Linked DNA regions of Homo sapiens: all the other regions are linked to region 5. Evidence: promoter capture Hi-C in 16 types of primary human blood cells and fetal thymus (Javierre and others, 2016). All regions are on one chromosome and are shown on one strand. The core of a region is centred on a gene start or on the middle of the fragment in contact, and the rest is flanking DNA. Distances in the headings are between cores, read along the strand shown.

The links. The method cuts DNA at HindIII sites, captures the fragments that hold promoters and counts their contacts. A CHiCAGO score of 5 or more calls a contact.
Region 1: a contact is called between a fragment that was not itself captured here and the fragment with the promoter of RESF1 in region 5, in 1 of 17 cell types (total B cells). The highest score is 5.7, in total B cells.
Region 2: a fragment that was not itself captured here is called in contact with the fragment with the promoter of RESF1 in region 5 in 1 of 17 cell types (fetal thymus); the score reaches 5.7 in fetal thymus.
Region 3: a fragment that was not itself captured here is called in contact with the fragment with the promoter of RESF1 in region 5 in 2 of 17 cell types (naive CD4 T cells and naive CD8 T cells); the score reaches 7.5 in naive CD4 T cells.
Region 4: a fragment that was not itself captured here is called in contact with the fragment with the promoter of RESF1 in region 5 in 5 of 17 cell types (naive CD4 T cells, total CD8 T cells, erythroblasts and 2 more); the score reaches 9.9 in naive CD4 T cells.

The regions. Positions count from the first base shown.
Region 1 is chr12:32,329,101-32,333,096 of GRCh38, forward strand. The region is part of intron 5 of BICD1 (BICD cargo adaptor 1); the gene reads left to right. Among named protein-coding and RNA genes, the nearest start is that of FGD4, 68 kb to the right of the region's middle. The HindIII fragment of the contact is 4,608 bases long and covers 1-3,996 here.
Region 2 is chr12:32,251,708-32,256,006 of GRCh38, forward strand. The region is part of intron 2 of BICD1 (BICD cargo adaptor 1); the gene reads left to right. Among named protein-coding and RNA genes, the nearest start is that of FGD4, 150 kb to the right of the region's middle. RefSeq lists an enhancer at 736-1,075. The HindIII fragment of the contact is 959 bases long and covers 905-1,863 here.
Region 3 is chr12:32,272,194-32,276,279 of GRCh38, forward strand. All of the region lies in intron 2 of BICD1 (BICD cargo adaptor 1), which reads left to right. Among named protein-coding and RNA genes, the nearest start is that of FGD4, 130 kb to the right of the region's middle. The HindIII fragment of the contact is 4,145 bases long and covers 1-3,591 here.
Region 4 is chr12:32,287,942-32,292,256 of GRCh38, forward strand. The region is part of intron 2 of BICD1 (BICD cargo adaptor 1); the gene reads left to right. Among named protein-coding and RNA genes, the nearest start is that of FGD4, 110 kb to the right of the region's middle. The HindIII fragment of the contact is 1,183 bases long and covers 1,249-2,431 here.
Region 5 is chr12:31,957,852-31,962,196 of GRCh38, forward strand. It overlaps RESF1 (retroelement silencing factor 1), which reads left to right and starts at 1,564. Exons shown (of 6, transcript NM_018169.4): 1 at 1,564-1,640; 2 at 2,926-3,020. It overlaps LOC105369725 (a long non-coding RNA gene), which reads right to left and starts at 1,453. Exons shown (of 2, transcript XR_931503.2): 1 at 1,277-1,453; 2 at 642-953. RefSeq lists an enhancer at 1-482 and silencers at 1,535-1,874, 4,218-4,277. The HindIII fragment of the contact is 2,403 bases long and covers 776-3,178 here.

The DNA of each region.
Region 1 (3,996 bases), core at 546-3,045, 370 kb after region 5:
TATTATTTTTTATTTTTGTTTTGAGACAGAGTCTCGCTCTGTTGTCCAGGCTGGAGTGCACTGGCGCCATCTCTGCTCACTGCAACCTCCGCCTCCTGGGTTCAAGCGATTCTCATGCCTCAGCCTCCGAAGCAGCTGAGATTACAGGCATGTGCCACCATGCCTGGCTAACTTTTTGTGGAGACAGAATTTCACCATATTGTCTAGGCTGGTCTCGAACTCCTGACCTCAAGTGATCCGCCCACCTCGGCCTCCCAAAGTGCTGGGATTACAGGCATGAACCACCGCGCCCAGCCAAGTATAGCAAGATTAAAAGGAGTGTTTTGTCCTTCATCCCAAACTTAGAGAAACAAGAGCGCTAAATAAATGAATAAGTCAGGGATGAAAGGCAAGACAACTGTGAGGACCTGAGTGAGTAACAGAAACAAAGCCAGACAGATTGTTACCAACAAATTAAATAGTTTGGGGCCACTTTAGCAAGGAAATAATAGAGAGTGTGTGTGAGAGAGTATAAGAATGAGCTCTACCTGTGCTACTGACCACGTATCTGAAATTTAGGTTCATTTGGGATGTTAACCCACCTGGGTCAGAGGTTAAGTAATAGGGAGCTTTTCCTAGCTATTGATCTTGTCCTTCTGGACAAGTAGTAATGTTACAACATGAACCTGTCTAATTCCCAGCCCTCCTTAATGACTGAAATTGTTTTCACCCTGAGTTTTACCTTGGTGGGAGTGCTGCGAAATATAGGCAGGAAAATTATTTTCACCTTTATTTAGTTTATCTGAAAAGATATTCTTGAAAGACACATATTTGAGAAAGGTGCTGAATAAATGTTGGTGTTGATAAAGAGAAGCAACAAAGCACCAAATACCCTCCTGCAAACGCAAGCAGTGCCAGTGAATAGTAGGTCAAGGGAGCTCTTGGTCTTTGGAGAATGAGGATTAATTTCAGATTCAGAGTGTCTTCTCCATTTGCCATCATCTGGGGAAAACCACGCCCTTATTATCTCATCTACAGTGCAGCTTTCAAGTCCTCATCTCTAGTTCCCATAAATCTATTTATATAATTGACATCTATACCATAAGCCATAATATTGTTTGCACTATTAACATGTTTTATATAAACCTAAGGGCAAAATATGACTTTATTTTATGTTGTCACTTTAGAGAAATAGAAAAGATTAGAGTGAATGAAACCATCATTCTCAGCAAACTATCGCAAGGACAAAAAACCGAACACCACAAGTTCTCGCTCATAGGTGGGAATCGAACAATGAGAACACATGGACACAGGAAGGGGAACATCACACACCGGGGCCTGTTGTGGGGTGGGGGGAGGGGAGAGGGATAGCATTAGGAGATTTACCTAATGTAAATGACGAGTTAATGGGTGCAGCACACCAACATGGCACATGTATACATATGTAACAAACCTGTACGTTGTGCACATGTACCCTAGAACTTAAAGTAAATTAAAATATATATATATAAAATAAATAAAATAAAAAAAGAAAAGATTAGAGTGAATGAAGAATTTGTGAGAGATCTGACTCTAATTTTAGGTCGGAATAAAGGAATTTATTATTGTAACTCTGCTATAATTTAAAGACCCAATGATTCAGAGTGGTCATAAATAACCAATACCATATTAGATAAGGCTTACACAAGGACATGCTATCCTGGGGCATTCTTGATCAAGCCATCCAGATAACTTCTCTGACTTCTTCCTAAAGGTTGAATATTAACAATTTAGGTCTGGGCGCAATGGCTCACGCCTGTAATGCCAGCACTTTGGGAGGCCAAGGCCAGTGGATCACTTGAGGTCAGGAGTTTGAGACCAGCCTGACCAACATGGAGAAACACCGTCCCTACTAAAAATACAAAATTAACCAGGCGTGGTGGCGGGTGCCTGTAATCCCAGCTACTCGGGAGGCTGAGGCAGGAGAATCACTTGAACCCCGGGGGGCGGAGGTTGCGGTGAGCCTAGATTGCATGATTGCACTCCAGCCTGGGCAACAAGAGCGAAAATCTGTCTTAAAAAAAAAAAAATCAAGATGCTTAACTGAAACAGAGGTATAGATAAGGACACTTGGCCAACCAACAGAGACTAATTTGTGAACAAGCATTCATTGATTACATATTTTCTGGGAGGCAGTAAGTAGGGATGCAAAAATAAATGACATAATCTAGTAGGAATTCCGCAATTGCCTGTAGCTGTTTACAAGACAGGACTTATCAAGCACTTTAGAGTGATGTAAACAGTACCACAGGAAATCAGAACAGAACAAAGCATTCCTAGCTGAAGTTTTATTTTCACTGTGCTTTGTGGTACAGGTTGAGTATCCCTTTTCCGAAATGTTTTGGGGGACAAGAAATGTTTCAGATTTTGGATTTTGGACATTTGCATATATACATAATGAGTTATCTTGGGGATGGGATCCAGGTCCAAACATGAAATTTACTTATGTTTCATGTATTCCTATATACATAGCCTGAAGGTAATTTTATACAATTTTTTTAATGATTCCGTGGCTGAAACAAAGTTTTGACTGCCACTCATGACATGAGGTCAGGTGTAGAATTTTGTGGCTCATGTCAGCACTCAAAAGGTTTCAGATTTTGAAGCATTTTGGATTTTGGATTAAGGATGCTCAACCTGTACCATTTGCATTACATTAGAGTTACAGTCTATATGGGCTCAGTAAATTAAATGAAAACACATTTCTAGCAATGCATTTGGTCTGCACGTTCATGATGTTGGGGCTGTTGCTGTGATGCTTATTGCCGTAAATAGCTTCAAGTATTAACAGATGACATTCACTATATTTATTTAGACATTGTGAAATGTTTGTTTTTAAGGTTAAGGTGAGAATTCTGGGGTACAGGGGAAAAAAGGAAATCTCCCTGTTTTAAAATAGGCATTCTACTATACAGCCATAAGAAAGAAAAGAATGAGATCATGTCATTTACAGGGACATGGTTGGAGCTGGAGACCATTATCCTTAGCAAACTAACACAGGAACAGAAAACCAGATACCGCATGTTCTCACTTATAAGTGGGAGCTAAATGATGAGAGCAAATAGACACATAGAGGGGAACAACACACACTGGTTCCTGTTGGAGGCTGAAGGATGAGAGGAAGGAGATGATCAGGAAAAATAACAAATGGATACTAGGCTTACATACCTGGTGAAGAAATAATTGGTACAACAAACCCCCATGACACACATTTACCTATGTAACAAACCTGCACATCCTGCAGCTGTACCCCTGAACTTAAAAGTTAAAAATAAATAAATAGGCATTCTGTAGTCTCTATGAATCTTCTCATTTACTTAAGGATTTTTTCATAGGCACAGTGCCTTCTGATGAAGTCAGTAAATGCTTATGAAGCACCGTCCATCTAGCACTGTGCTAGATGCTGAAGATTCAAAGAAGACTAACACATGGTCCCTGCCTTCCAGAAGACTCAGCCTCCTGGGGATGTCAGGATAGAAACACAATTACAGTTCAACGTTACACATGCTGTAATCCAAGTTATGAGAACAATGCAGAGGAAGCAACTAAGGTTTCCTAGAGGAGCGGAAAAGACTTCACAGAAGCAATTATACCTTAGTTTGTTATTAAAGGATAAGAAGTTGTTTTCCAGAGGAGGAGGAAGTAATTCCAGACAGAACAGTAGGTAGAGAGGCTTTGGAGTGACAAAATAGAATAATATATTCAGGGAATGCTCACAAAGGCCTATGTGGCTGGAAATAAGACTTTTTTTATTTAGAAAGTCAACTTTGGAATGTGTGGAGAAAGTGGTGAAAGCAGAAATCAGCAAATCCAGTGAGTTATGGATACTTAAAATTACTTAATTCTGGAAAAACTTTGCACAGTCAATGGACAAACAAATCTACAAACAAAACTGAGGCTTTGGGGTATTTGTCACAAACAATAAATGATTTTGTATTTCTGTTTCAGATCTAGCTCTTCTGTTATCCCCCATTTTAT
Region 2 (4,299 bases), core at 134-2,633, 290 kb after region 5:
TTTTTATTTTCATAAATTGCATCATAAATAATATCTTTATACTTTCATATTTATGCATTTTGACAAACAGATCCATGGGATAAGTTGTTCTTGGTGTAGTTTCCAGGTAAAGCAGGATGTACATTTACACTTTTGATACTTCTTTTTAAATTGCCTTCTCAAAAGACATCTATTATCTTTCCCTCCAGTGATGAGTAAGAGTTCATATTTCCACACGGTTTTGGGGCGCTCGGGAGTTTGTTTTTTTTACAAAACTTTTAAAACTTTACCACTATATATATAATATATTTATAATATATATTTATAATAAATATCATATATTTATAATATATATTTATAATAAATATTATATATTATATATTTATAATATATATTTATAAATATATATTTATAATAAATATTATATATTATATATTTATAATAAATATTATATATTATATATTACATATTATATATTTATAATAAATATTATATAATATATACTATATATTTTATATATATTATATATCTTGTATATATTATATATATAACTTCTCTTTTTACTTCGTTTCACTTGAGTTATAAATTTGCCATGTTTGGAGGTTTTCGATGGTCCTAGCAAACCAGTTTCCCTAGAAGCAACTTCCCTTCAGTCCGATTCACATCAAAGATGTGACTTCAATACCATCTGATGTTCAAGCTATTTATTTTAGCAGTGGTCTTACAAGTCGGATAGTGGGAGCAGGTGGGTGGCATGGGCCAGATTCAATCAGAGGTCAGATGACTGCCTGTCCAGGAGGGTCTCCATCTGGAGACTATTCTCAGAGTTTGGGAGATTCTTCCCATTTCTTCTACCTGCATTTAGTTCAGTCAATTATCAGGCGTTTCTTTCATAAGAGGAGGTTAAGCTAGTCTTATAAGGGTAAGCTTTGTTAAAGGTTTACGAGATTTGCATCCGTGATGAGGTGGCCTTATGTCCTGGAAATCCCTGGGCCAGCTTGGAAATCCCCAGGCCAGGTGGCCTCACGCTGCTAAGTGGCACATAGTGTCAGTCCTGTGAGAGCTTGTTAATGCCTTATAGCTATCATTAATCTTGTAGTCATGATATGTCTCCTATAGGATGCTACACAGTTGGTTTTAGCATTTTACTATCGTTTTGTTGTTGATTACTTTTGTTTTCTTTCGTTTTTTGTTTCTGTTTTTGAGACAGGGTCTTACTCTGTCATCCCGGCTGGAGTGCAGTGGCATGATCATGGCTCATTGCAACCTCTGCCTCCCGGGTTCATATGGAAGGCAGAGGATTCTCCCACCTCAGCCTCCTGAGTAGCTGGGACTACAGGTGCACACCACCGCACCCAGGTAATTTTTGCATTTTTTGTAGAGACTGGGTTTTGCCATGTTGCCCAGGCTGGTCTTGAACTCCTGGGCTCAAGCAGTCGGCCCGCCTTGGCCTCCCAAAGTGTTGGGATTACAGGTGTGAGTCATCGTGCCCAGCCAGCATCTTACTATGTTTATTAGCCATTTGGATTCCTTTTTCTTTGAATTGCTGCTTGTTAATATATTGGCCCTTTTTTCTGTTACATTATTAATAATGCCAGGAATTATGCTAGTTGCTATGCAAGATGCAGACTTGAGGAAAACCTGGTCCCAGCTTTCAAAATGCTTACTTTCCAAATCTGACTCATCGTTTGACTTTAATGCCCCACTGGACTTCTCTAACAGCATTTTCCATTTTCCCTTTCAAAAGGACTCAAAATATACAAATTTAATTTGATGATAAGAGCTCAAGAAAGGCCGTGGATTCTTTTTTTTTTTATTTTTATAGTAAAAGTGATCAGACTGTTTCCTCTTTTAAGAAGAAAAAGAAAGCAGAGGTCAATATTAAGCTTCCAATTAATGCTTATTCATCACAAATAGTAAGTAAATAATGACAGAAATAATTCCTTAGTCACTCTCTAGCACACTTCTTTTTTATTTTTAACATTTTTCACTATGTGAGATTTCCTAGATTTGTTTTATTTTCTGTTTCCCTCTAACTGCAATACAAGCTCTTGTGGACTGGAACCACACCTGTCATATTCATGCTGTATCTCACCTGTCATATTCACTGCCAAATCCCACCTGCCATAATCACTGCCGTATCCCACCTGTCATAATCACTGCCGTATCCCACCTGCCATAATCACTGCCGTATCCCACCTGTCATAATCACTGCCATATCCCACCTGCCATAATCACTGCTGTATCCCACCTGTCATATTTACTGCTGTATCCCACCTGTCATAATCACTGCCGTATCCCACCTGCCACATTCATTGCGGTATCCCACCTGCCATAATCACTGCCCATATCCCACCTGCCGTATTCACTGCCGAATCCCACCTGCCATAATCACTGCCATATTCCACGTCATATTCACTGCCATATCCCACCTGCCATATTCACTGCCGTATCCCACCTGCCATAATCACTGCCCATATCCCACCTGCCGTATTCACTGCCGAATCCCACCTGCCATAATCACTGCCATATTCCACATGTCATATTCACTGCCATATCCCACTTGCCATATTCACTGCCGTATCCCACCTGCCATAATCACTGCCCATATTCCCACCTGCCATATTCACTGGCAGATCCCACCTGCCATAATCACTGCCGTATCCCACCTGTCATATTCACTGCCATACCCCACCTACCATATTCACTGCTGTATCCCAAGCTTCCAGAGTAGGCTCTAGCATTTGTAGGTGCTCAGTGAATATTTGCTGAATTAGCAAAATAGAAAATTTAAATCTCTTAACAGGTACCACGTTTTGACATAATCACTTGTAACATCTATTTAGAAATCCATAGGCAGCACAAGCACATAAATAAAAACCTGACCTTCCCCAAGATCTTTCCTCCTCTGTTCAGCATGCTGTGTCAAGAGCAGCACATTGTGTGGTCACTGTCTCATTCAATTGGGACAGTCGCATCATCTGCCCCTTGCTGAATCGAGCCTTTGAATTAGATGAAGGAAATTTGGGCCAAGTCTTCTGGAATTTAGTGACTACTATTATCTAGTTTCCCTCTGGTGCAATTAGAAATGAGCAATGAACCAATATATAACCTTGCTTAAAAAGCAATTTCCTTTACTATTCTCCTTGTTTAATTAGTCTGTTTTGTTCTCCCTGAGCTCGAGAGGCATTTTTTCTCCCAAAGCAGAAGCATTAAGTAAGATGCATTCAGTGTTTTCATGAGATTCATTCATTCTTCTTGGACAAGATCTTGGCCACTGTATTAGTCTGCTTGGGCTGCCATAACAAAATATCACAGACCAGGTGGCCCAAACAACAGAAATTGATTTCTCACAGTTCTGGAGTCTGAGAGGTCTAAGATCGAGGTGTCTGCTGATTTGGTTCCTGCTGAGGGCCCTCTTCCTGCTTGTGACAGCCACCTTCTTGCTGCATCCTCACGTGACTTTTCCTCTGTGCTTGCATGGAGAGAAAGAGACAACAAGACAGATTCGCTGATGTCTCTTCATATAAAGGCACTGATTCCATCAGGCCACTGATCCCATCATCCCCCAGCCTCATAGCCTCATCCAATCCCATTTAATTCCCAAAGGCCCTATCTCCAATTACCATCACATTGGGAACTGGGGCTTCAACATAGGAGTTTGGGGGAACTCAAACATTCAGTTCATAACAGCCACCATGTGCCAGTCATCTGGACAGAGGTTGAAAAAGCCCTATCCATGCCAAAATCTTACCTCTTAAGGTAGTAGAGGCATACTGCTAATGTGAACCTTTAAAAATGCTCATTTATTCTACAGATATTCCTTGTTTATGCCATATTACTCACTGGCTTAAAAATCTTCTAATGATGAGGCATGGAACTTGGAGAAACCACCCAAAGTTTCTACCATGTTCTGCAAGGCTGTGATCAGGCACCTGCTTACCTCTCACACTGCTCCAGCCACACTGGCCTGCGTGCTGCTGCTTTCTCCCTTAGGGCCTTTGCTCTGGCTGTTCATTCTCCTTGTGGTGCTTTGCCCCAGATAGCTGGCTCATTCTCATCATTCAGGTCTCACTTAAGTGTCATCTTTCATAGGACATCCCTGATACCCAATCAGAATTACTCCCTTGGCCAGCTGGCCTGTGCCAGATGCTTTGCTGGATATGAAGACACAAAGATCAGTAGTGCGGCCAGGCGTATTAAAATATTACCCTTAATCAATGTTGACTCGACATTAATAATAGAGCATATTAATGATAATATTATTAATTAATTATTATTAATTTATCAATAGAGCAGATATTGAACACTTACTATTTG
Region 3 (4,086 bases), core at 269-2,768, 310 kb after region 5:
AAACTGAGGGTCAGGCTGCTACTTCTCCTGGCCCAATAATGAGATGCAGACAAACTGGGGAAGAGAGGTTTTATTTTTGCATTTGGTTACAGGGAGAAGGCCTAGAAATTGTCACCACACCAACTCAAAATTACAAAGTTTTCCAGAGCTTATAAACCTTCCAAGCTGTATGTCTACATATAAGTGTGCATTCATCTAAAGACATAAGTGATTAACTTCTTTTAATCTATAACTAAGATCTGAGTCCTGAAGACCTTTCTCTGGAGCCTCAGTAAATTTACTTAATCTAAATGGGTCCAGGTGCTAGGGTGATTACCCTTATCTTGTCTCCTGCTAAATCACAGAGGTTTGGGGAGTTCCTTCAGACCTCCAATAAACTTGTGTGTGGAGGCCTGGGGAATTTCTTCAGACTGACAATAAAACTTGTTTATTCCAGTCTGGCCAACATGGTGAAACCCTGTCTCTACTAAAAATACCAAAAAGTTAGCTGGGCGTGGTGACGTGCACCTGTAATCTCAGCTACTAGTGAGACCTGGCCTGCCACAATGTGGTTAAGGAAACATATTAAAACATTTTTAAAAATCAAGATTTTCCATTTCAATGGCCTTGTAATTGATTGAAAAGTTTATTTTGAGTCACATGGTGTTCTAGACTCTTGTGGAGGGTTTAGATTGGAAAATAAGTAATGACAGTGAAGCAGTTGTTATGTTCGTATAAAAGAAAGAAAAGAAAAACCCACAGGACTTTATTTGGTTTTAAAAGTCTATCTGCAAAGATATAGTTTATAGGAAAATTCAATTCCAAATGTTTCTCATTGCTCTGGAGTGTGTGAAGAAGAGGCCTAAGAATATTCTTAGGAAGGCAAAAACTTTCAGATGCAGTTCATATGCTTGACACCTCTGTTTCACTTTTGGCTGACTTGTGTAGTCTGATTTTTGGTCACTGACAGGCTCAGCATCATGAGTGTGCAAGACGTAAGGGAGGCAGGACCTTGTCTTTTCAATGGTGTCTTCCTGGGTGGCTGCCAGAATTCATCATTATTGCACTCTACTCTCATAGCCTCGATTTCTGTTTTTGTTTGCTTTTACTGAAATTGGAGTAGTGACACAGAGTCAGATCATTGAAAAGACTCACAAGATTCCAAAGGGTATACTGGTAGAGTATAAACTGGAGGATAAGGTACAGCGGGAGAAAGCAAGTACCAGCAGACACAGAGGGGGCTGAGACTCCTGCAAGCAGCGCCTTTCCTCAGGCTCACTGGATGTGCTCTGTGTTTGGGTGTGAACCACCAAGATGCATGCATGATATCTGTTTTCAGGGAAGCCAAGATACAAGTGTACAGAAAAGCCATTATACCCCCGTCACATTGCTGAAACTGGATGATTAAACCACGTACCAAGCGGTGTCTAAATTTCAGTAATAATGATCAGCTAGTAGAGGGTGCCTCAAGGCAGTTTCAGACTTTAAATAACATAGTAGAAATCACTAGCTAGTCCATTTCATCCTTATCATTGTTGCAGAACTTTCTCCTTAGTTCAGCTAAAACCGGGTTCTTGTCACACAACCGGAAAAGATTAGGCTCAGGGACACATAGAAGGGTGAGGGGCAGAATTTATTGGGTGAAAAGGAAAAAGGAAAAAGAACTCTCAGCAAAGCGAGAGGGAGTCTTGCCAACAGGCCCTCCACCTCACAGACTGAACACCAGGCCACCACACAGGAACTGAAGAGGCCAGGCTCCTCCCCGCTGAACAAGCGTAAACTTCTCTTGGCTCCACCCTCTTCCCCCAGTGTGCAGGTGGGCATTATTCAGAGAGAATCAGCTGAGAAAGGGCAGGCTTTATCCGGGACCAGCAGTCCAGTTCTTCAGCCTTCAGGCTCTTTTAGGCTTGAAGGCAGGGTTTCGTGGGGGACCTTGGTAAGAAGAGTTCTTTTCGACACTTTAATGTAGATTGTAAGAGGTAGAAAAAAATTGATCACATTTAACATATAGTTACTTAAAAACACATCTTTGAGTTTTCTAGACTTCTAATATGATTGTAGAAAATCAGCGTGGCAGCCAACTTAAGACAGATCAATACCTCGAAGTCTGTAACTTTAATAAGAACATCAGAACTGAAATTCTATATTAGTTACCCTATTGTACTCACAGTCATGGAATACAGAACAGGAAAGATTCTGGAAACACATTTTGATAGTCAGGGTCACAGATATTGCTCTGTTTCAGTAACCAGGTTTTCTACTTATGAAAGTTATTTAAAAGGCAATGAATATTCAAAATGTGAGCAGCTATTGCTACCATTAGCTCCAGAATCAGTTCTGAAGAATTTGTAGGAAGTCATCTTGAAAATAATAAAGCAATATATTTTTCAGAAATAGTATCCACTAAATCATAATCTGAGGCCACTTTACTGAGGCGTTTATATTTATATTTATATTAATTTGTTATTTTACACAGAAAGGGAAACTATGACCTAAAGACAGAGATAACAATAATCTGATTAGCATTAGCCACCCCATTCCAACAACAAATCACGTTAATAAGGCATTTTTAGAAGTAGCAAAGCATAGTGGTTAAGAACATATGTTCTAGAACTAGACAGTCTGAGTTTGACTCCTGATACCACTTATTTTATTCTAAAACTTTTGGCAAATTATTACATAACCTCCCTTGCCTCAGTTGGCCAAGCTGTAAAATGGGACTAATAATGGTGTCCAACTCACAGGATTGCTATGTAGGCTAAAAGGTTAAAAGAGTTTTATATTTCTAAAACAATGTGCTTGTAATAGTCTTGGCACATTGTAAACATTGTGTAAGTGCTTATTAAAAATAAATTCATGCTTGTAATTGAAGATCGCCATATGAGATACACATTCTAGTGATCTATATGTTTATCATTAGATATATGATATATACACACACTCATATTTCAGTCCCCTGAGGGATTAACTTTTAATCCCTTGATTTGCAAATCAAGTTGTAAATTACACGTATAAATAAAATACCTTTGTAGTGATTCGTTCATTATAAAATTATGCTAACTATGTTGGTTTTCATGTAGGCATAAGCTGGCTCTATAAATAAAGTTTGAAAATAAGTAAGGTATAAAGGAACCCTGGCGGGATAGATAAGATACTAGGAACAGTGGTTTGGGAGTGAGGATGGGAAGTAGACTGATGTGGAACAAGATGGGAGTGAGACTTTTTTTAGTCACCGTCTATATTTTTATAATTTCTGGGTCTGGAATCAGTATCTCCTCATCCTAACTTGTTCATATGATGAGTTAGAGTCATATCTGCCTGCTGTTAGTTTTTTCAAAGAATCTTCAAATGGGGCAACCCCCTTTGGGTCCCCTCCCTTTGTATGGGAGCTCTGTTTTCACTCTATTAAATCTTGCTACTGCACTCTTCTGGTCCATGTTTGTTACGGCTGGAGCTGAGCTTTCGCTTGCCGTCCACCACTGCTGTTTGCCACTGTCGCAGACCCGCCGCTGATTCCCATCGCCGCTGACTCCCATCCCTCCAGATCCGGCAGGGTGTCCGCTGTGCTCCTGATCCAGCGAGACTCCCATTGCCACTCCCGATTGTGCTAAAAGCTTGCCATTGTTCCTGCACGGCTAAGTGCCTGGGTTCGTCCTAATCGAGCTGAACACTAGTCACTGGGTTCCACGGTTCTCTTCCATGACCCACAGCTTCTAATAGCTCATCGCATGGCCCAAGATTCCATTCCTTGGAATCCGTGAGGCCAAGAACCCCAGGTCAGAGAACACGAGGCTTGCCACCATCTTGGAAGCCGCCCACCACCATCTTGGAAGCGGCTTGCCACCATTTTGGGAGCTCTGTGAGCAAGGATCCCCGGTAACATTTTGGCGACCATGAAGGGACCTCCGAAGCGTTTGTCTCTTCCAGAATTGAAACTGTAAAACTACAAATGGTTCTTCAAATGGAGCCCCAGATGCAGTCCATGACTAAGATCCACCGCAGACCCCTGGACCGGCCTGCTAGCCCATGCTCCAATGTTAATGACATGGAAGGCACCCTTCCGGAGGAAATCTCAACTACACAACACCTACTATGCCCCAATTCAGC
Region 4 (4,315 bases), core at 590-3,089, 330 kb after region 5:
AGCAGCTGGTGCTGACTGCAGGCTGGGCCACATGGCTCCAACAGGCTACCCTGGGGCTCTTCACATAGTCACAGTGTTACAAGACAGCAAGAGCATGAGCCACAAAGCCCCGTGAGGCTCAGGCTCAGAACTCCCCAGCACTTCCACTGTCTTCTGTGGGTCATAACAAATCCAAAGGCCAGCTCAGTCAGTTTGAGAGGGAATTCCATGGGTTGTGACTTCAGGGAAGTGTGATTAATTGGGGGCCATTAATATACTTACCTGTCACCTACCAAGTCCTAATTTTTTTTTTTTTTTTTTTTTTTTCTGAGACAGGGTCTCACTCTGTAGCCCAGGCTGGAGTGTAGTGGCATGATCATGGCTCACTGCAGGCTTGACCTTTGGGGCTCAAGCAATCCTCCCACTTCAGCCCCCTGACTAGCTGGGACTAAAAGTGTGCACCACCATACCTGGCTAATTTTGGCATGTTCTTTTTTTGTACAAAATAATCTTCTGGATGGGGCTCACCATGTTGCCCAGGCTGGTCTCAAACTCCTGGACTCAAGTGATCCTCCCATCTCAGCCTCCCAAGGTGTGGGGTTTACAGGCATGAACCACTGTGCCCAGCCTATGTCATAATTTTAAAAATTATTATAATAAGTTGGCCGGGCTTGGTGACTCACACTTGTAATCCCAGCACTTTGGGAGGCCAACGCAGGTGGATCACTTGAGGTCAGAAGTTCAAGACCAGCCTGGCCAACACAACGAAATCCTGTCTCTAGTAAAAATACAAAAATTAGCCAGGTGTGGTAGCAGGCACCTGTAATCCCAGCTACTTGGGAGACTGAGGCACAAGAATCACTTGAACCTGGGAGGCGGAGGTTGCAGTGAGCCAAGATCATGCCACTGTACTCCAGCCTGGGTGACAGAGCAAGACTCTTTCAAAAAAAAAAAAAATTATAGTAATTTTAACATGTTCGGTGTTTTCTGTAATTTTGTCTTTTACACTTTTTAAAATATTATTCTGAGAAGAGGTACATAGGCTTCAGCACATTGTCAAAGAGGGTCAAGCACATTATGAGATTAGGAGCCCTTGATCTAAAGGCAGGGAGTTCTGGAAAGAGGAGTATAGAAGCCTCAAGGCAGAAGCAAGCTGGCATGTCCAATGGGATAGAGGAGCAGAAGGAAAGCTCCTGCGGCCAGAGCCAAAGATTGAGGGGCAGAGTGGTTGGAGACAGAGGTAGGGCCAGATCATGTGACTTCTTTGAAAGCTTCTGAAACTTGCAAAGGGACCTCCACTTCCCCACTGCACCATACCCACAGAGTGTGAAAGTAGGTATTGTATGTAAATTGTATTTTATGATTTTTTGGGGTCATTGCTAACTTTTTTCAGTTATCTTGGCAGAAATAAGAAAATTCTTTTTTGCTATTCCATATATCTATTGTGATATCAGAGTCTGTTGTTTGTTTGTGTGTTTGTTTGTTTAAGACAGTCTTGCTCTGTTGCCAGGCTGAAGTGCAGTGGTGCGATCTCAGCTCACTGCAACTTCTGCTTCCCAGGTTCAAGTGATTCTCCTGCTTCAGCCTCCCAAGTAGCTAGGACTACAGGCGCGTGCCACCACACCCAGCTAATTTTTGTATTCTTAGTAGAGACAGGGTTTCACCATGTTGGCCAGGATGGTTTGATCTCTCGAACTTGTGATCCGCCCACCTTGGCCTCCCAAAGTGCTGGGATTACAGGCGTAAGCCACCGCACCCAGCCCCAGAGTCTGTTGTTTATAGAGGATGATTGGGCGTAGCTTTCTAGAGCTGGGAAAACCACCTTTAAACAGTATTATATACCAATATTTACTATTTCATAAATTCAGGCATATTTGCTTAAAATAATCTCCTGTAGAGAGGCAAGAAACAGAAGCCCATTTTTTTGTTTTTAGGAAATTCATAGAAGCCTTTGGTAAGGTTCTTTTAAGTTGGCAAACTCTATTTTCAGAAGACTTCTATGTTGACACTTGTGACCTACAGAATTGCTTTAAGAGGTCAGCACTGATAAAAACAGAGGGAAGCTGTAAAGGGAGGATTAGGCTAAAGTCAACTGGTGGAGTAGGCATAGGTGAATTACTAAAGTGTTGATGAAATGACTCTGTTGGAGTTACCAGTTTATTATAATGAGAGCTAAAGTGAAAAACGCCAGACAGCCTAGAAGCATTCTGAATAACAAGGAGCTCCAACCCCTTATATATAAATGAGGTTACATATAGTAGGTTGAAAGCAGGTTTCCAAAACAACCAATTAGTTTGTATAGCTTCAGCTTCAGGATTGATGATTACATTCCATAGGATATTACATTAAATTGATGAAATCTGCACGTCTCTGGGGAACTCCTTACAAGCTAGCCAGTGAGCTTTTATGATGATAAGATACAGAATGGATAAAAATCTTCTGATGCCAAAAAAGCTTTGGCCCTGCCCAAGTTAGGATCTATATTCATATTATCACCAGGTAAAGTGTCTTGCAAACTTTCTTAGCTTTCATTCCTATCAGACTGCAGTTCATGACTGTGAGGTGTCAAAGACTCTCTCCTTAACCAAGCTTCAGTCATGCTCTGCTAATGTCTCTTTTGGACCAGGCTTCAAGCTTGCTCCACCCCCAGCTTTGGCTTGCCCAGCCCAGCCTTAGCAAGGAATTCTGCTAAGTCATCTCCCAACCCTAGATATCTAATTACCCTTGATATCTGATCAAGTTCTTCATCCTCCACCTTTTTGATGTCTAAGTCCTTGGACTGCCTTTAGCAAGAGTCCTGTTAGGCCAGCTTAGCAAGAATTCCCCTGCCCTTGATGTGTTCTTTTAGCAATTTCCCATCCTTTGACATCCTCATGCTGTTCTTGGCTATAAATCTTCACTTGCTCTTGCTGTTTCAGAGTTGAGCCCCTTCTTTTCCCCCCTCCAATTGCAATGGTTTTGAATGAAGTCTTCCTTACCATTTTAACAAGTGTCAGAATAATTTTTTTAACATCTGTCTTTACACCACAGTCAACAACCCCTTATCCTCCCCAAAACTCTGAGCTAACGCCACTACTTAGAGATTACAGTGTCTGCCTATTTTATTAGCTGGAACTGCATCAGTGATTTTGGAGTTGAATTTTTCATTTTTTACATGAAAGATTATGTGTTTATAATTTGTTGTTTTCACATATGCATAAACAGAACTAGGAAGAGCTGTACTCAGGAGTCAAGTCAGAAGAAAAAACATCACCATGTTCAAATAGACAACTGAACATGCCTCTGAAAACCAGAGACAAAGGGAGTTATTTACAGTTAACATCTATAGAATATGGGCCGGGTGTAGTGGCTCACGCTTATAATCCCAGCACTTTGGGAGGCCAAAGCAGGAGGATTGCTTGAGCCCAGGCATTCGAGACCAGCTTAGGCAACATGGCGAGACCCCACCTCTATAAAAAATTTAAAAATTAGCTGGGCGTGATGGTGTGCATCTGTAGGCCCAGCTACTCAGGAGGCTGAGGTGGGAGGATCACTTAAGCCTGGGAGGTCAAGGCTACAATAAGCTGTGATTAAGGCACCTGGGCAACAGAGCAAGACCCTGCTTCTACCAAAAAAAAAAATATATATTAAATTTGTAGAAGTCTGGGCACAGTGGCTCACACCTGTAATCCCAGCACTTTGGGGGCTGAGGCAGAAGGATTGCCTTCACGAGTTTGAGACCAGCCTGGGCAACATAGTGAAATACCATCTCTACAAAAAATACAAAAATGAGCCAGTTGTGCTGGTGTACACCTGTAGTCCCAGCTACTTAGGAGGCTGAGGTGGGAGAATCACTTGAGCCTGGGAGGTCAAGACTGCAGTAAGCCGTGATCATGCCACTGCACTGTAGCATGGGTGACAGAGTGAGAACATGTCTTTAAAAAAAAAAAATCTGTGGACTATGAAGCAAGATGAGAGACATTTGAAAGCATATGTCGGAAAGTCAGGTATACTTCTAGAGCTGGCTCTCTGTTAGGATAGAGACCTTTAAAATGTTTCTAGTGCTTGCAGATGTCACCCTACCCTCCTGCAAAGATAACAGTGCATTTACTTCTGTCACTGTAGATTAGTTTTGCCCAGGTATTCTTTTCTTAGGGCTGCCGTAACAAAGTCTGGGTGGCTTTAAAACAACAGAAATTTATCGTCTCACAGTTCTGGAGGCCAAAAGTCAGAAATCATGGTGTCGGCAGGGCCATGCTCCCTCTGGCAGCTCTAGGGAAAGGCCTTTCCTTGCCCCTTCCTGGCTTCTGGTGTTTGCTGGCAATCCTTGATGTTCCTTGGCGTGTAGATGGGTCAC
Region 5 (4,345 bases), core at 314-2,813:
TGGTGGTCTCTTCACACGGATGCGCGTGACACAAAGTGCTGGGGTTACAGGCCTGAGCCACCACACCTGGCCACCCCCAATCTTTAAGAATATTCTGGCCGGGCGCGGTGGCTCATGCCTGTAATCCCAGCACTTTGGGAGGCTAAGGCGGGCGGATCAAGAGGTCAGGAGATCGAGACCATCCTGGCTAACATGGTGAAACCCCGTCTCTACTAAAATACAAAAAATTAGCCGGGCATGGTGGCGGGCGCCTGTAGTCCCAGCTACTTGGGAGGCTGAGGCAGCAGAATGGCGTGAACCTGGGAGGCGGAGCTTGCAGTGAGCCGAGATCGTGCCACTGCACTCCAGCCTGGGCGACAGAGCGTGACTCCGTCCCCCCCCCAAAAAAGAAAGAATATTCTGTATGTAGTTTTTTTGTTTTGTTTCTGACAGACGCAAACGCACTCTTCTAGTAATGACTAAAGACTTCTTCGTTTAATTCACCAATGAACTAATCTGACAATTTATGTAACAAATAAATTCCTATAAACATAAGCTCCCTTGCCCCTCTCCAGTGGCACAATCTCTGATTTGCCATCCTGGTTGCAACCTTCATTACTAAGTAAACGCTTACGTAAACCTTAATAATGAGATTCGGGCAATATGATTAAATATTGGTTTATTTGAGTGCAAAGTTTGAGGATGGCGACCCGGTAGGACACAGACTCCAAAAGATGGGGGTCAGTGCTTCGAAAGGGAGAAGTTTGAGGGTCGTTTACACAGGCAGGGTCTGGGAAGCTTAACAGGATGTCAACATTTTCCATAGAAGGTTAACGCATAGCAATTTGATTGGTTCAAGGCAGTGTTTCTTTTTGGGAAGGGTCTATTTAACATTCCACATTAAGGATGTAATAGTCAAGCGGTCATTTATCTTATTCAATGCGTATTTTATCTCAGATGCCATCTGGTCTGAGCTGGGAACAAGAAAATAAGGGAGTTAATCTATAACAAAAGGTCGGCAATTAAGAGGTCGTGCTTCGTGATCTGGTCTCCAAAGTCAACTTTCCTCAGGGACTTTCAGAATCCCCAAATAGACTATCCACTTTCTTTCACACTTATTTGCCTCTAACTTGTTGATTTCTTTTTTTTTTTTCTGTTTTTTAAGGGTTAACAATCTCTTGGGTGCACTCTGACTTCCATGCGCTTTATAGAAAAAATTGGTCCTGAGGCCAGCAGCAACAGTCGGTCTCAGGAACTTGTTAGAAATGCACATTTTTCAGCCCCACCCCAAACCTACTGAATCAGCAGTTTTGCTGGTGGTTCTCAATCTCTCTTTAACGTGCCCTCTGGGTGCTGCGGATGCACGCTGAAGGTAGAAGATCGCTGCAGGAGATTTCCGCGTCGGGCAGATGAAAGCGCTCTGCAAGCCCGGGTGTTATCTGCGGGCCGGGTCCGCGGCTTCTCTGGTGGCACTAGGACCGCGGCGGCGCGGCCCTCGCAGCCACCGCCTCGGGCGTGAGGCGGAGCGTAGCTGTTCCTGGATCCTGGGCCTGGCTCCTCGACCCGCCCCTGGAGGCGGACCCCACTTGACTTAAACTCTGGGGCCCGGGAGGCCGCCGGTTTTCTCCCCGCTTGCCGGGGTGGTCCTCTTCCCTTTGTCGGTAAGTGTGAGACGAGCACCCCGAGGTCCCTCCGCCTTCCGGGGTCCGGGCGGGGCGGGGGCCGGGAGCCGGGAGCCAGAGGCACTCGCGGTCCGGGCCTGCGCGCGGCGCAGAGCGCTTTTGTTCTGCGGCAAAGACGCAGTCGCGGGCGGCCCCGGAACCCGGGCCTCGGGCCCCGCCGGCTCGCGCGTCCCGCCGTCCGCCCACCGGAGCTGGGCCGGGCCGCCGCGCTTGCTTCTGCCCGCCGCACCGGGGCCGGCCCTGGGCCTCCGCGGATGCCGAGCCTTGCACCGGAGGGCGGGCCTCGCTGGCTGTTTTCCCTCATTGCCTGGCTCTGCGCGGTAGAGGTCGCGAGTGGCGAAGGCTAGGACGCATTTTGTCGAACTGCGAGGCGCGGCTGGTGAGGCGGGTGGGTATGAGAGCTGCTTATGTTTTTAAGGCTTTCCTGTCGCTGGAGTGAAAAAGAAAAATCTTTTTTTTTTTTTGCTATTTCCCGAGGGTTCTCCTCCTCCCCGGCCCTCTTAAGCCGAAGCCTCCTGGAACAGAATTGCTGTACTGGCATCTATCTCCAAGTGGTCCGCGAACGCTTCTGCGCCGGCGATGGTTTCTGTTCCTCAGCAATAGTTCCTTGAGGCATTTTTAAATGCACAAACGCATACCCATCTTAGGTGTTCTCGAGGGACACGGATTCCCTAAGCAAACGTCCTTAGGGTCCTGAGTTCAGCAGCAAACTTTCGGGGAATCATTTCCGTGAAAACAATTTATTTGTAGTACATCGAGTGCATACTGTCTTAACATAAGGATGTGTATGAGCTTGAGGCGCATTTTCATTTAGTGGCGGGCGGGTGCATTTCAGTAGGCGGGCCGCAGAGCTTGTTTGGGGATTGCATTTTTCTGCTAAATGTGTTAGCTTTAATCATGTTTCAGTCACTGTTAATGTGCATGCATGTTAAGGTTTTAGGTTTTTTCCCCTGTGCAGTCGGATTTTTTTCTGTTTAATATTAATCCAATAAAGACAAGTGCAGAGATAAAGTATTATTGTTTTGCAGTGATACTACAATAGCGGACCTAGAGGAGCGCACATAAATTCTAACTTAAGTGAATGGTATTTTCAGGCCAGACCTAGTTTCTATTTCTGTTACTTAGGACACTTAATAAGAATTCAGTAAACTTAGCATGCTTTCAGTGCAGCCATAAAAGAAAACAGTTTTGCACAGCAGTGTCATATCTAGTAAACACATTAGCATGTGCTCTTTTATTATAAAATGTTTCTTGCTGTCCCTAGGACCAAAGAAGTAAACACTGTGTGGAGAGGGACTGACGTGTTTGGAGGGAAATGGGAATGTACACGATAATTAAAGAGTAAAGTTGTGCTCAACGGTAAGTGTATCACCTCTAAGAAACCCGCCCTGATTTAACCAGGCGGTTATTCACACTCAACTATGGAGTAATTCACCTATTACCGAATAAAATTACTAGCTCAGTGAATCAACATCGGTTTTAAATTAAACTGTGGGTCACAATGGAATTGACAGCAAAGCTTGAGAAGAAATGTTGTTGGCATAGTACTGAAAAATCAGTTGTTAATCTTAGCAAAATAAGGAAAGAGGTCTTTGGTAAGGGAATTGTGGTGGAAGTTACCTGGGCAGAGGTCTGCTTCTGTCTGTGCTGTGTTTATTTGATTGTTTTTATTATATTTTATTACTGTTGGTGGCACATAGGGGAATGTGGCGCAGAGCACCACTCTGGGAGGATGCTTCCCGTGCAGCCAAAGTGATCATGTCCAGGGCTTTCATCTGTAACCACAAAGTGTGTTAGGAAGTCTCACCTAATGATTAAGACCATGGTCCCTGTAACCACACTGCTTTGGTTCAGATCTTGGCTGTAGCACTCAGCCAACCCTGGAAAATAAACCTCTGCCTGTTCTCTCATCTATAAAATGGGGACAAGCACTAATGTCATAGGATTGTTATGGTAGAGTTACATGAGTTTCATGCATATCACAGTTAAACAGCTCCTGATGCATGGCAAGTGCCCAATAAATGTTAGCTATTGTCATGTTAGAGGAAATAGATTTTGTGGCCTGGGACATGTAATGCTGCCTTAGCAGAAATTCAGCTGGTTCATTTAAGCTCTAAATTTATGAGCTTTTTATTGATTAAACCCATCACTGTAGATCCTCTTAGATTCTCTTTTTTGTAGGTCTTGTTTTGTTAGGAAGTACCTGTCACTACTGGTCCACATCTGGATTTACCTGCAGGCTTGTTTGGAATAAAAAATGCCTCCAAATTCCTAGGCAGGACAAACTTGCCCCAAAGCTTTGTTGTTCTACATTATCTCTGTGATTGTACAGGAATCTCTCTTCCCTCCTAGATTATCAGTGTCTTGGATATAATTGGAGCTCAAATGCTTAGGGAATTGATTTAATGTTGCTTAAAACGTATTTGTAGGCCAGGTGTGGTGGCTCACGCCTATAATGCCAGCACTTTAAGAGGCTGGGGCAGGCAGATCACTTGAGGCCAGGAGTTCGAGACCAGCCCTGGCCTCAAGTTGGCCAACATGGCAAAACCCCATCTTTACTAATAATAACAAAAATTAGTCGGGCGTGGTGGCACATGCCTGTAATCCTAGCTACTCAAGTGGCTGAACCCAGGAGGTGGAGGTTGCAGTGACCTGAAGTCACCCCATCGTACTGCAGCCTGGGT